2 separate regions of the Homo sapiens genome follow, and region 2 is linked to region 1. Evidence: promoter capture Hi-C in 16 types of primary human blood cells and fetal thymus (Javierre and others, 2016). All regions are on one chromosome and are shown on one strand. The core of a region is centred on a gene start or on the middle of the fragment in contact, and the rest is flanking DNA. Distances in the headings are between cores, read along the strand shown. Region 1 holds the start of LATS2 (large tumor suppressor kinase 2). Region 2 overlaps MICU2 (mitochondrial calcium uptake 2).

Region 1 (6,764 bases), core at 1,966-4,465:
TCCCGAAATCCTTCCTCTGTTTATGGTCAATTTATCAGCTTCAATCCCCACCCTACCCCACCCCTTGGTGGAGTTTAGGAGCCCAAGGCTGGCTATTTACAACATAGCATTTAAAATAACAAGGAATCTTATTGTAAAATCATTCCCCTCCCACCAAAAGAAAGCCCCTCCCACCAACCCTGTGATTTGCTAAGGAACATGTACAGCTCCAATTTACACTTAAACTATTTCAAACTCGATGGAGAAGCCAGAAGAATCCCTTCCAGTTCTATAATTCAATGATTCTAGTAATTCACCTTGGTAATTTTGCAAGACAGGCTAGCCTCTGCTCAGATACCTTAAACTGCCTGAGATTTGGAAAGTTATTAAATGTTCACCAACTTATATTCAAAGGAATGCTGGTATATTCATTACACTATTATTATATTCAGTGCCTTCTATACCTGCATGAGACAAAATTTTGTGAGACACTGACTTGTTAATTACAGTTAAATAGACGTCATAAACAGTTTATACGTTCTCATTTTGGAATATTTTTTCTGTTACTACCTTATTACAACGGTTGTTACAGAAAAAAAAAAAACATACAAAGCAGCTTACCAAAAATATACAACAAGATTTAGCACAAATTTCCTAATAATCAGCCATGAGTTACTTTTTCCATGATTAAGGGAAGGCCCCTCATCTTCTAAGTTAAAATTTTAAGCAAAACACTTGTGCAAGATCACACACATTTTTGTGATTTCCCATTCAAATTTCAGTATATTTGTTTCTTATTAAAATACGGGCAAACTTTCCTTTAAAAATGTACGTATTTGTTGAATACTTTGTGAAAAGAGCTGTTCAGCTATTAATTTGAATTTTTTACCGGCCAAATGTATACTCTATGGCTTAGTAGTTAAGGTGAAATAATTTTTTTAATGCTATTACATTAAAAACACTCTTGGCTGGGTGCGGTGGCTTACGCCTGTAATCCCAGCAGTTTGGGAGGCTGAGGCGGGCGGATCACAAGGTCAGGAGATTGAGACCATCCTGGCTAATACAGCGAAACCCCGTCTCTACTAAAAATACAAAAAATTAGCCGGGCGTGGTGGCACACGCCTGTAATTCCAGCTACTCGGGAGACTGAGGTAGGAGATCGCTTGAACCCAGGAGGCGAGGTTGCAGTGAGCCGAGATCGCGCCACTGCACTCCAGCCTGGGCGACAGAGCAAGACAACGTCTCAAAAAACAACAACAACAACAACAAAAAACACTCATATCCATCCTAGAGAAGCGTGAAAATGTAAAAGTTCTTGTTCAAAATTCTTGTCAGGTGGGGCGCGGTGGCTCACGCCTGTAATCCCAGCACTCTGGGAGACGGAGGCAGGTGGATCACCTGAGGTCAGGAGTTCGAGAGCCAGCCTGGCCAACACGGCGAAACCCGTCTCTACTAAAAAATACAAAATTAGCTGGGCTGGTGGCGCGGGCCTGTAATCCCAGCTACGTGGGAGGCTAAGGCAGGAGAATCGCTCGAACCTGGGAGACGGAGGTTGCAGTGAGCCGAGATCGCGCCACTCCCCTCCAGCCTGGGAGACAGAGCGAGATCTTGTCTTAAAATAACAACATTTTTGTCAAAAAAATCTGCAAGTTAAGTTCTTTCATGGTGATCCTCGCAAAATAGCATTTCTCATCCAAAGGCCTCAGAACAGCCGCCAGCCGCCGAGCTAACTCGGGACCCTGTTACCGGCTGCTTGGCGCCCTGGTCGGGTGGGTTTTACCTTCTTCAGGGTCCATTCCTCGCCTCGCCCCCCGTTCCCAACCCTCGGGACACTGGAGACTTGCATTTCACAAACGGGTTTGCTCCAGGCCGCACTCCATCCCCGAGGGAAAGCTCCCCAGAAGTTCTGGAGTTGGGCTGAAGGATGTGATGGCAAGATGTGAATGATGTCAGAATCCCCATCTCCAGAGTCCGGCTGGGGAGCTAAGCGCAGGTGAGCTTACATCAGAAGAGAAAGCCAAACCCCCCACACGTCGCTAAACTAGGGCACGGGAATGGCGTGTTATGCAACGGCCGCCGTTCGCGTGGCCACGAAAGCGCTCCTGCGCCTCGGGCCGCGTCCCGCCAAGACCGTGAGCAAACTCGCAGAGTTGGCGCGGCAGCCGGCCGGGAGACGCCGAGCAGGGCCTGGCCGCCCGCAGCCCGGGAGGAACGGCGCCCCCAGGGTCCGGTGGCCTCTGAGGGGCTGACTGGCCCGTGAGCCGGCGGCGCGGCCGCGGGGAACGGGGTGGGAACCGCGCGGCAGTGGGTGAGGCGGCGCAGCCACCGGGGGCTGAGGGGCGGCGCGGCCTCGACTGCGGCACCGCCGTGGGTCCGTCGGCTCGCGGGACGACGGGGCGGCCGGCGGGGGCCAACAGGGCGGGCTCTGAAGGACTGATTGGCCCGTGGGACGATGGCGCGGCCGGGAGGATGGCCCCGGATCCGTGGGACCGCTGCGCCGCCGGACCGGGGGTCCCGAGGCTGTCAGGGGCGCCCGGCCGGGCGTCTAGTGAAAAGCCGATCCCCCGGAGACAGCGGAAGCAGAGGCGCGCCCGGCGCTACGGCCTTTCGGGTCTAGGACACCGCCCCCGGCCCGCGCCGCCCCTGCCCCGCCGGGATCCCGGCCGCCCCGGTCGCCGCACAACAAAGCGGCGCAGCCCCGCTGCCCCCGCCCGACGCCGGCCTCCAACTTCCCCGGCTCCTCTGGAACCGGCTCCGCGGGCTCCGTACGGCCTGGACTACGAGCCGCCGGGCGGGGGCGGCTCCGGGCGGGCGCGGACCGTGGGGGCAGGGCGCAGGGCTCCGTCCGGACAAACTTCCTCGGCCGCCCCGCCGGGCGCCCTTCCCGGAGCCTCGGCACCACAGTAGGTGCGCGGAGCCGCAGGGCTCGACCGCTTCGCGGAAACTCTCGCCACCCTCCGAGCTGCCGCCCCGACCCCAGCTCCCAGCCCCCTCACCTCCAGGGGCGCGGTCTACACCCTCGGGGGCGTCCTGGCCGGCGGCTCCCGGGCCTCTCGCGCCGGGAGACCGGGCACTGGTGGCTGGAGCTGCTGCTGGCCCCGCAGGGACGGGGGAGCCCCGGGCGGCGGCGGTGGCGTGGACGGCGACTGCTCCATCTTCCCGGGGCGCTCACGCCGCGGTTCCAAAGCGCAGACCCAAGTGGGACATTCGCTACATTGTTGGCATTCCACGGGCGTCACGTGACCCCGCCTCCCGCGTCACTCTCGGCCGCATACCAGTCCGGGCGGGGCGCCTGCGGCCCCTGCTCCTCCGCGGCCGCTCCGCCCAGCCCCGCCCGGCCGTGCTTCCTGCCTCCGGCCTCGACCGCCACCTGCCCACGGCCTCCCTGCTGGCCTGCGGTAGCTCGCCAGGGCCTCTCGGACCTATTTGACTGGCTGCTATCTGCCCCCAAACTTGAGTATTTGCCCTCTCGACTGCATTTGTATTAAAAGTTGGTAACTGTCGTTAAAGCCACTATTCTTAAGTATCTCATACCAGTCTTGGTGAAAGAAAAAAAAAAGTTAGCAGGCCTGAAGGAGCCACCAAGTTACCAACTAGTGGCTGGACACTAAAAATAGGGGCAGAAAAGGACAGACGGCTATTGGGACAGTGGAATCAAACAATTAAGAAGGACGTTTGCCAGAAGCGGTGGCTCACGCCTGTAATCCCAGCACTTTGAGAGGTCTAGGCGGGTGGATCACCTGAGGTCGGGAGTTCGAGACCAGCCTGACCAACTTGGAGAAACCCCCGTCTCTATTAAAAATACAAAATTAGCCAGGCGTGGTGGCTCATGCCTGTAATCCCAGCTCTTCGGGAGGCTGAGGCAAGAGAATCACTGGAACCCGGGAGGCGGAGGTTGCGGTGACCTGAGATCGCATCATTGCACTCCAGCCTAGGCAAGAAGAGCAAAACTCCGTCTCAAAAAAAAAAAAAAAAGAACGTCTGATGCACACCCAAATTTAACCTGATTTAATTTAATCAACCTCCCCTCCCCATGTATATTTTCTTTCTGAGAAGTATTTTATGGTGTAGGGAATAGTATAGTACCGTATATACCAGCAAGTGAGGTCGTGGGTTTTGAACAGCTTCACTATCCATTTGAGGACTGTGGATCTGGTACAGGGACAGAAGCAGGGATGGTGCAAAGATTCACAGTAGAAATAATAGACTGGAAGCCAAATCCTCAGTCTACTTCTGGCTCTCCTAACATCATACTTCCTACCACCTATATCTGTGGCAAGTGATGCTGAGGGTCAATATAGTGTTTAAAGTCAACTCGATTTCCTCTTTAATTGACAAACTCTTGTGAAATTTTTAAATTTTACTCTCATGGGAAACAGTAGTAAAGGTCATTATCTGTGCACTATTTTGACAGTCTCACCCAGCCTTCAGTCCCTGGTTCATCCTCCTCCCCTCCCTCTCTTTCAATCTCTTAAGGCCTCAGCTCTTCCAGGGAATCTTCTCAGATCTCTGTTTTCTCTCTTCTTTGGGCTCTGATAATCAAACCGTAATCCCTTCCTGCCAGCAGAAGTGTGCAAAAAAAAAAAAAAGAAACCATCATCGTGCAGCTTAGAATTCAATTTAATTTTTCGATAGTATCCTGTATGCTACCCAGATATCTTGCACAGTACTGGGAGCAAAATAAGTCTCCAGCCAATATTCTGCAATTGAGCCCTACTGGCATTACCTATGTACTTTTCCACATTTTTTCCTTTTTTTCTTAGAGACAGAGTCTCACTCCATTGCCCACGCTGGAGTGCAGTGGCACAATCATAACTTACTGCAGCCCACATCAGCCTTGAACTCCTGAGCTCAAGCCATCCTCCTGCCTCAGCCTCTAGGGTAGCTGGGAACACAGGCGCACACCACCATGCTTGGCCTTCTTTTCACTCTTAAGCTGACTATACTTTCTCCACCCCAACCCCAAGCCACATGGCTGCTAATCTTTTTTTGTTGTGTGTTTAAAGATCCTGCTCCTGCTCTGCCTTCAAAGATGTAAAAATAATTTTTAAAACACTTGTGGAATGAAAAATATTATAAAATAGATTTAATGGACCTTAAAATTTGTGCATAAAATACCTAATAAAAATGTTGCAGTTACAATGATCATTTCAGCATTGTTTGCAGTAGTGAAAAATTGAGAAAAACCCCAAATGTCCAGTCAAGGGGTAGGAAAATGAAAGGTAGATATCCAAATGATGGAATATACACAGTAGCTAAGTTAATGAACTAGCTCTGTAGTTGTAAAGGATAAATGATGGTAGAAAGAATTCAAAAGCACTGTGGAGTGAAAAAAAGCAAGTTGCAGAACTATATATATACACTGTGATACCATATTTATAAATAATCAAAATCCCACAGAACCTAAAATGATCACATACTTTATATAAGTATAGACATAGAATGCAATATCACACACACCAAATTCATGACAGCTGTTGTTTATATTAGAGGGAAGGAGGGAAATTGAGCAGAGAAAAAAAATGAAGACTTCAACTTTACAATGCTTTCTTTTATTTAAAAAACGGAAATAAAACTCAAAATCTTAAAAGTTGTTGGTTCTGGGAGGTTGGGTTCAATAATGTGTGCTATACTATTCTTTGTGCCTTTTTTAAAAAACATTAAAAATTTTAAATTTTATATATATATATGAATACAGACAAATTGGAAACAAGTTTCCAAGATAGGGGCTTGGTTGGGAAAGCTGACACGCTCACATGGAAGAATGTTGTGATTAACGATTTGTGTTTATTAACATGCAGTCATTCATTCCTTCTCATTTTTGTTTGTTGTTGTATGTTTGGGTTTTTGTTTTGTTTTCTGTTTTGTTATCGGTACCTGCTATGAACCATGTGCTAAAATTAAAAAACCCATGTTTGGGTTTTTGTTTTGTTTTGTTTCTGTTTTGTTTTGTTATTGGTACCTGCTATGAGCCATGTGCTAAAATAAATCATACTTGGGATAACATGGTAAGCAAAACCATAAGATTTATCCCCTGATGGGGTTTATAGTGTGGTAGAGGTAGAGGTGTTCAAGAAAAACACATGCTGGGCATGGTGGCTCATGCCTGTAATCCCAGCACTTTGGGAAGCTGAGATGGGTGGATCACTTGAGGCCAGGAGTTCGAGACCAGCCTAGCCAACAGAGTAAGATCCCATCTCTACTAAAAACAAAAAAAAGAAAGGAAAAACAGCAACAATATAAGTTTATTTTATATGTATATACAATAAACTATGTACACATGTATATTTTTTAAACTATTTTTAAAGCCCAGAAAATTACACAGCCAAATGTTAAAAGTGGTAGTCTCTGGATGTAGTGTAGTGATTCTGAATGGTTTTGTCTTATACTTCCTGATACTTCTATAGTAGGATAGTTAACATAATTTTTTTTCTTTTTTTCTTTTTCTTTTTTTTTTTTTGAGATGGAGTCTTGCTCTGTCGCCCAGGCTGGAATGCAATGGTGAGATATCAGCTCACTGCAACCTTGCAACCTCCATCTCCCGGGTTCAAGCAATTCTCCTGCCTCATCCTCTGGAGTAGCTGAGATTATAGGCATGCTCCACCATGCACGGCTAATTTTTGTATTTTTAGTAGAGATGGGGTTTCACCATGTTGGCCAGGCTGGTCTCGAAATCCTGACCTCAGGTGATCTGCCTGCCTTGGCCTCCCAAAGTGCTGGGATTACAGGCTTCAGCCACCATGCCTGGTCCAGAAAATGTTTTAAAGTTAATCAGTTAAATAAGC
Region 2 (6,764 bases), core at 1,122-3,621, 440 kb after region 1:
CAAAGGGCACAGTGAGAAGGTGCTGTGTGCAGGCTGGGCAAGAGGCCTCACCAGAAACTGGCCCTGCTGGTGCCTTGATCTTGGACTCCTGGCCTCCAGAACTGTGAGAAATAAATTTATTGTTTAAGCTGCCCAGCCTGTGGTGTTTTGAGGCGGCAGCTTGAAGAGACTAACATACTCTGTTAAGTGGTCCACTTCTGCTAAGTTTTATTAGTGGACATAGCACTGAGTAAGAGCACAGAGTTTTGGAGTTAGATGGACTTTTAATGCTGAAATTCCGGTTCTGCCCTTTATAACGTGTATGACCTTAGCCTCTCTAAGTCTTAGGTAAGTAACGCTTCAGGGGTTATGTAGTTTGCCCAAAGTCTACTAACTGGAACAATCAGGATCTGAACCTTGGTCCATCTGACTTCAAAATCTGAGCACTTACAAATAAAACAAATGGTGCGGGCGCGGTGACTGACGCCTGTAATCCCAGCACTTTGGGAGGCGGAGGCGGGCGGATCACGAGGTCGGAAGATGGAGACCATCCTAGCTAACACCATGAAATCCCTTCTCTACTAAAAACACAAAAACAAAAAAATTAGCCGGGCGTGGTGGCAGGCGCCTGTAGTCCCAGCTACTTGGGAGGCTGAGGCAGGAGAATGGTGTGAACCCAGGAGGCAGAGCTTGCAGTGAGCCGAGATCACGCCACAGCACTCCAGCCTGGGCGACAGAGCGAGACTCTGTCTCAAAAAATACATAACAAACAAACAAACAAACGGGCTGGGTGCTGTGGCTCATGTCTAATCCTAGCACTTTGGGAGGCCAAGGCAGGCAGATCACCTGAGGTCAGCAGTTCAAGACCAGTCTGGTCAACATGGTGAAAAAGAAAAAAAAAAAAAAATTAGCTGGGTGTGGTGGTGCACACCTGTAGTCCCAGCTATTTGGAAGGCTGAGGCAGGAGAATTGTTTAAACCCGTGAGGCGGAGGCTACAGTGAGCCAAGATCGCGCCACTGCACTCCAGCCTGGGTGATGGAGTGAGACTCTGTGTAAAAACAAACAAATAAATAAAAAAGTTAAAAGAAAACTCAGTTTTTTCCATTAAAACAATAAAAGCTGGGTACGGTGGTTCCTGACTGCAATCACAGCACTTTGGAAGGCTGAGGTGGCCGGACTGCCTGAGCTCAGGAGTTGGAGACCAGACTGGGCAACATGGTGAAACCCCCATCTCTACAAAAAATACAAAAATTAGCCAGGCACGGTGGCATGTGCCTGTGGTCCCAGCGACTGAGGAGGCTTAGGCAGAAGGATCCCTTGAGCACAGGAGTTTGAGGTTATAGTGAGCTAACTGCACCACTGCACTTCAGCCTGGGCAACAGAGCAAGACCCTGTCTCAAAAACAAACAAACAAAACAAAAGTAAACAAAGTATGAAAATTCTCTTAGTTTTTATCTTGTTTTTGAGATAGTGTTTCACTCTGTGACCCAGGCTGGAGTCCAGATCACAGCTCACTGCAGCCTTGAAATTCTGGGTTCAAGCTATCCTCCTGCCTCAGTCTCCCAAGTAGCTGGGACTACAGACACAGAGCACCACACCCAACTAATGTTTTTATTTCTGTTTTTAGTAGAGACGAGATCTCGCTATGTTTCTCAGGCTGGTTTCAAACTCCTGGGCTCAAGTGATCCTCCCACCTTAGCCTCAGAAAGTGCAGGGATTACAAGTGTCAGCCATTGTGTCCAGCTAAAAATTCTTAATTTGAAAGTAAATTCTTCCCTGCCTGAAAAAAAAAGTTTCTCTTTGTAGGATGCTGAGGATCATGCCCTCTGTAATGTGTGGTCTTACTCAAGGTTCACTGGTTTCCAGCTTTTGTGACTTCATGAAATTTTTATTTTTAAATATTTCAATAAAGTTTTTGAAAAAGTAATATGTGCACATGGTTAAAAATTCAAACAACATGAAGGATAAATGATGAAGAGTTCTTCCACTCTGATTCCCAGTTCCATTCCCCAGACATGAGTTACCAATTCCTTGTGTCTCCATCCAGAAATATCCTATTCTTTTTTTTTTTTTTTTTTTTTTTTTTTTTGAGACAGTCTCGCTCTGTCACCCAGGCTGAAGCGCAATGGCGCAATCTTGGCTCACTGCAACCTCTGCTTCCCAGGTTCAAGCAATTCTCCTGTCTCAGCCGCCTGAGTAGCTAGGACTGCAGGCACCCACCACCACGTCCGGCTAATTTTTGTATTTTCAGTAGAGATGGGGTTTCACCATATTGGTCAGGCTGGTCTCAAACTCCTGACCTCAGGTGATTCACCCACCTCAGCCTCCCAAAGTGCTGGGATTACAGGCGTGAGCCACCGCGCCTGGCTAATATTCTATTCTTATTAAAGTGTATACATGTACACACACGTCTCCTTGTTTTACACAATGGGAACAATCTCTTCACATATTTCTGTACCTTGCTTTATTCTCTTAACAGTATATTTACAAGATGATAGAGAGGGAAAAAAGGAAAAAAAAAAACCAGTGTATTTATCAGCACAAATAAGAGTGGCTGCTTCTATCATGACCTCGAAGTAGGCACTGGATGCAACTTTTTTGATGTCTGCTTTTCTGATAGATGAAAAATGGTATTTTATTAATGTTTGAATTTGCATGTCTTACGGAGTCTTGCTGTGTTGCCCAGTCTGGAGTGCAGTGGCGTGATCTTGGCTCACCAGAACCTCCGCCTCCCTCATTCAAGCGATTCTTCTGCCTCAGCCTCCTGAAAAGCTGTGATTACAGGCATGCGCCACCACGCCCCGCTAATTTTTGTATTTTTAGAAGAGACGGGGTTTCACCATGTTGACCAGGCTGGTCTCAAACTCCCGGCCTCAGGTGATCCACCTGCCTCGGCCTCCCAAAGTGCTGGAATTACAGGTGGGAGCCATAGGCCCGGCCTGAATTTGCATGTCTTCAATTGTGAATGAAGTTAAACATTTTTCACATGCTTATTAGTCATTTGTGGATTTCTCTTCTTGTGTCCTGTTTATGTCCTTTGCCCAGATTTCTAATGGGTTGTTAGGTAACTTACTGTGCGAGACCGTTCTCCATGGGTCTCACATTTCTTTTTTTTTTTGAGATGGAGTCTCGCTCTGTCACCCAGGCTGGAGTGCAGTAGCACAATCTCGGCTCCCTGCAAACTTCACCTCCTGGGTTCACACCAATTCTCCTGCCTCTGCCTCCCGAGTAGCTGGGACTACAGGCACCCGCCACCACGCCTGTCTAATTTTTTGTATTTTTAGTAGAGATGGGGTTTCACCATGTTAGCCAAGATGTTCTCAATCTTCTGACCTCATGATCTGCCCGCCTCGGCCTCCCAAAGTGCTGGGATTACAAGTTTGAGCCACCGTGCCCAGCTGGGTCTCACGTTTCTGTACATCTATCAGAGGCACCGACTGCATTTTTGTTCCAGATTATATCTTCGAGGATTTCACACCTGTAATCCCAGCACTTTGGGAGGCCGAGAGTTTGGGACCAGCCTGGCCAACAACACAGTGAAACCCATCTCTACTAAACATACAAAAATTGCGAGGCATGGTGGTATGCGCCTGTAATCCCAGCTACTCAGGAGGCTGAGGCAGGAGAATTGTTTGTATAGCGGACAGCACTGTTCCTCAGGAGCACAGGACAGCTTTGCTTACTGTCCAGTATCATGAATACACAATGCCTCCCACTGCAGCAAAGCTCAGGAAGGCTTGTTTACTTGCCCATTACAAAACATTCAGATCACTAAGATGAGGGTCCTCAGCTGTGATGTGAATCTGCTGTGTGGGCAGCATCTACCTGGGCCTCTCAGCATCATGCCCATGGGGCTTGGGAGGCAAGGGGGAACTGACACAAATATGTTACTCATGTTGTTGCTACATTACGATAATAAAATTCTTTGTGTCTGACTCAATAGTCTTGTATCTTCTGCAAGCATCCATGAAACTGTGCAGGCTAACCTGCAAAGGGATAAAATTTCAGACACTTTACAGTTATTCACATGTTGATTTTCAAGTTCTCATGATATATTAAATAGGGAAAAAAAAATCTCAGACCGTTTAAAGTTCTTGATACCTACTGATTTTTTTTTTTTTTTTTTTTTTTTTTTTTTTGAGACAGAGTCTCACTGTTGCCCAGGTGTGACCTTGGCTCACTGCAACCTTTGTCTCCCAGGTTCATCCAATTCTCCCGCCTCAGCCTCCTGAGTAGCTGGGACTACAGGTGTGTGGCACCATGCCCGGCTACTTTTTTTTGTATTTTTTGGTAGAGATGGGGTTTCACCATGTTGGCCCGGCTAGTCTCGAACTCCTGACCTTGAGAGAGCCACCCACCTTGGCCTCCCAAAGTGCTGGGATTACAGGAATGAGCCACCACGCCCGGCCAATCCCTACTGATTTTTAAAGATCCCATTATAAATTAAGAAAATTGGTCTTTACATATCAATATCTCCCCCTTCTTCATGTTAACTTTTTATTTTGACTCTCATTATAATTTTTGCAGGGGACGAGGTGAGGCAACAGATTTTAATTTTTAGGTATTTCATCAAGTTTTCTTTGAAAGGTTTTGGGTTTTGCTTAGAAAGGTATATAACCTAAGATGAAACATTGTTTCCATGTTTTCTTCTACACTTACTCAGTTTCATTTTTTCAACATTTAATTTTTTGATTCATCCTAAATTTATTTTAGAGTAATGAATGGTGTAAAGATTTATGTTCATTTTCTCCCTCAGATGGCCAGTGAATTATCCTACTGCCATTTATTAATAATTCTTTTACCCAACTAATTTAAAATACTATTTCATAATTACTAAATTTTTCATATGCTTAAGTCTATTTCTGGAGTCTGTCAAATTCATTGTCAGTAACAAACTGTTTTAGTTACCAAGGTTTGATAATATATTTTAATATGTTGACATTCTTTTCATATAAAGTCTTTTTTTTTTTTGACACAGAGTCTTGCTCTGTCACCCAGGCTGGAGTGCAGTGGCGCAATCTCAGCTCACTGAAAGCTCTGCCTCCAGGGTTCACACTATTCTCCTGCCTCAGCCTCCCGAGTAGCTGGGACTACAGGCACCTGCCACCATGCCTGGCTAATTTTTTGTATTTTTAGTAGAGACGTGGTTTCACCGTGTTAACCAGGATGGTCTTGATCTCCTGACCTCATGATCTGCCCGCCTTGGCCTCCCAAAGTGCCAGGATTACAGGCGTGATCATATAAAGTTTTATAGCTTGTCTAGTTTCTTCCCAATAATTCAATGGTATTTTTATTGAAACCCACGAGTATTCACCAGTATCTGGATCTTTTCTGATTCCTGCACGTACGAAAGACTGAAGTTCCTTGCCTCCCTGCATTCAGGTGGGGTTATGTGATTAGTCTGGCCAATAGCCAAGTGTCATGTGATGTTTCCAGGCCAAAACATTTAGTTGCTGGATTTTGACTCCCCTCCTTCTTTTCCTGCCACAGCCTCTGAGCGTGGTACTTCTTTCAGATGATGTAACTCCAAGATGGCACAGCCTCAGAGAGTCTAGACCTCTGAATGGGTCTAGACCTCTATGCGGACAGAGACTCCTATCAGCCCACAATGGAACTGCGGCATGACTGAGCAAGAAACTCAGTGTCAGACAGGGGGATTTCAGGGTTAATTTGTAACTGCAGTAAACTTGGGCTGTTCTAATATAACCATTACACTTATAGACTAACTGAAGACAGAATTGCTGTATTTATAATTCTAAGACTTTCTATTCAATAATAGGGGATGTCTTATAATTAGATAAGTTTTCTTTTTATATCCATCAAGGCTATCAAGTTTTCTTCTTTTTTTTTGTTAAATTTATTTCTAATTGTTATATATTTATCTTGCAGTTATAACTGGGTTCTTCTACTGCAATTTATTTTTTTCTTACAATAGAAGTAACTTTTTAAAAAGTTACATAAAATACATGTCCATTGTAAACATTTTTTTGGAACAATACATAAAGGTATAAAGAAAGAAAGTAAAAATCACTTGAAACCTCACCACTGTACATGAATAATTATTAATAGCTTGGCAATCATCATTTCATACATCTCGTATATATATACACACACATATGCATGTCATTACATTTTCTACTTGTAATTTGTATATAGGAGAGCTGCTGCTGCTTATATATTAGCATTGTGACAGGTACTTTATTGAATTCTTATTGTTTCTACGGTTTTTCTACTGGATTCTCTTGGGTTCTCTAGGCATATAATTGCATCATATAAAAACAAAGACAACTACTACCCCCTTTCACATTTTTATACTCTTTTAAATAATCTTGTTAATTTGGACTGGTTAAGATTTACAGAGTGATATTAAATAACAGTAGTGATACTTGTCTTATTCTTGACTTTACTGGAAATGGAAAACTTGTAATTGCTACACTGATTCTGTCTTAGGCAGTTTTCCTTTACAGGAGAAGAGCATGTAGAGAACATTCCTCAAGTTGATTTTATATACCATCGAGGGTAGCACAGTCTTGGTTAATTCAGAAGTTACTTTATGTAAACATGTCTAACTTATTATTTCATCTTTATCACATGCATAATAAAAGGGTATACCAACCTCTCCTGCTGACAACTTCTCTCTCACATTTTTCCAATAAATATCTTTATTTTCAGTGTTAGTGAAAAAAAGTAGCCACTCTGCAAAGTCTTCTTTTCTCATGAAACTCAAACCTTTAGAAAACTGAAGGAATTCCATTTCTTGAATCTCTGTTTGTAAATTTTCCAT

What was found. The method cuts DNA at HindIII sites, captures the fragments that hold promoters and counts their contacts. A CHiCAGO score of 5 or more calls a contact.
Region 2: a fragment that was not itself captured here is called in contact with the fragment with the promoter of LATS2 in region 1 in 1 of 17 cell types (total B cells); the score reaches 5.5 in total B cells.

What each region holds. Positions count from the first base shown.
Region 1 is chr13:21,058,371-21,065,134 of GRCh38, forward strand. LATS2 (large tumor suppressor kinase 2) reads right to left here and starts at 3,216. Exons shown (of 8, transcript NM_014572.3): 1 at 2,976-3,216. RefSeq lists an enhancer at 1,683-2,575 and silencers at 2,081-2,490, 2,631-3,430. The HindIII fragment of the contact is 13,546 bases long and covers 1-6,764 here.
Region 2 is chr13:21,496,330-21,503,093 of GRCh38, forward strand. MICU2 (mitochondrial calcium uptake 2) reads right to left here. Exons shown (of 12, transcript NM_152726.3): 9 at 6,597-6,764. Among named protein-coding and RNA genes, the nearest start is that of ZDHHC20, 40 kb to the left of the region's middle. The HindIII fragment of the contact is 9,764 bases long and covers 1-6,764 here.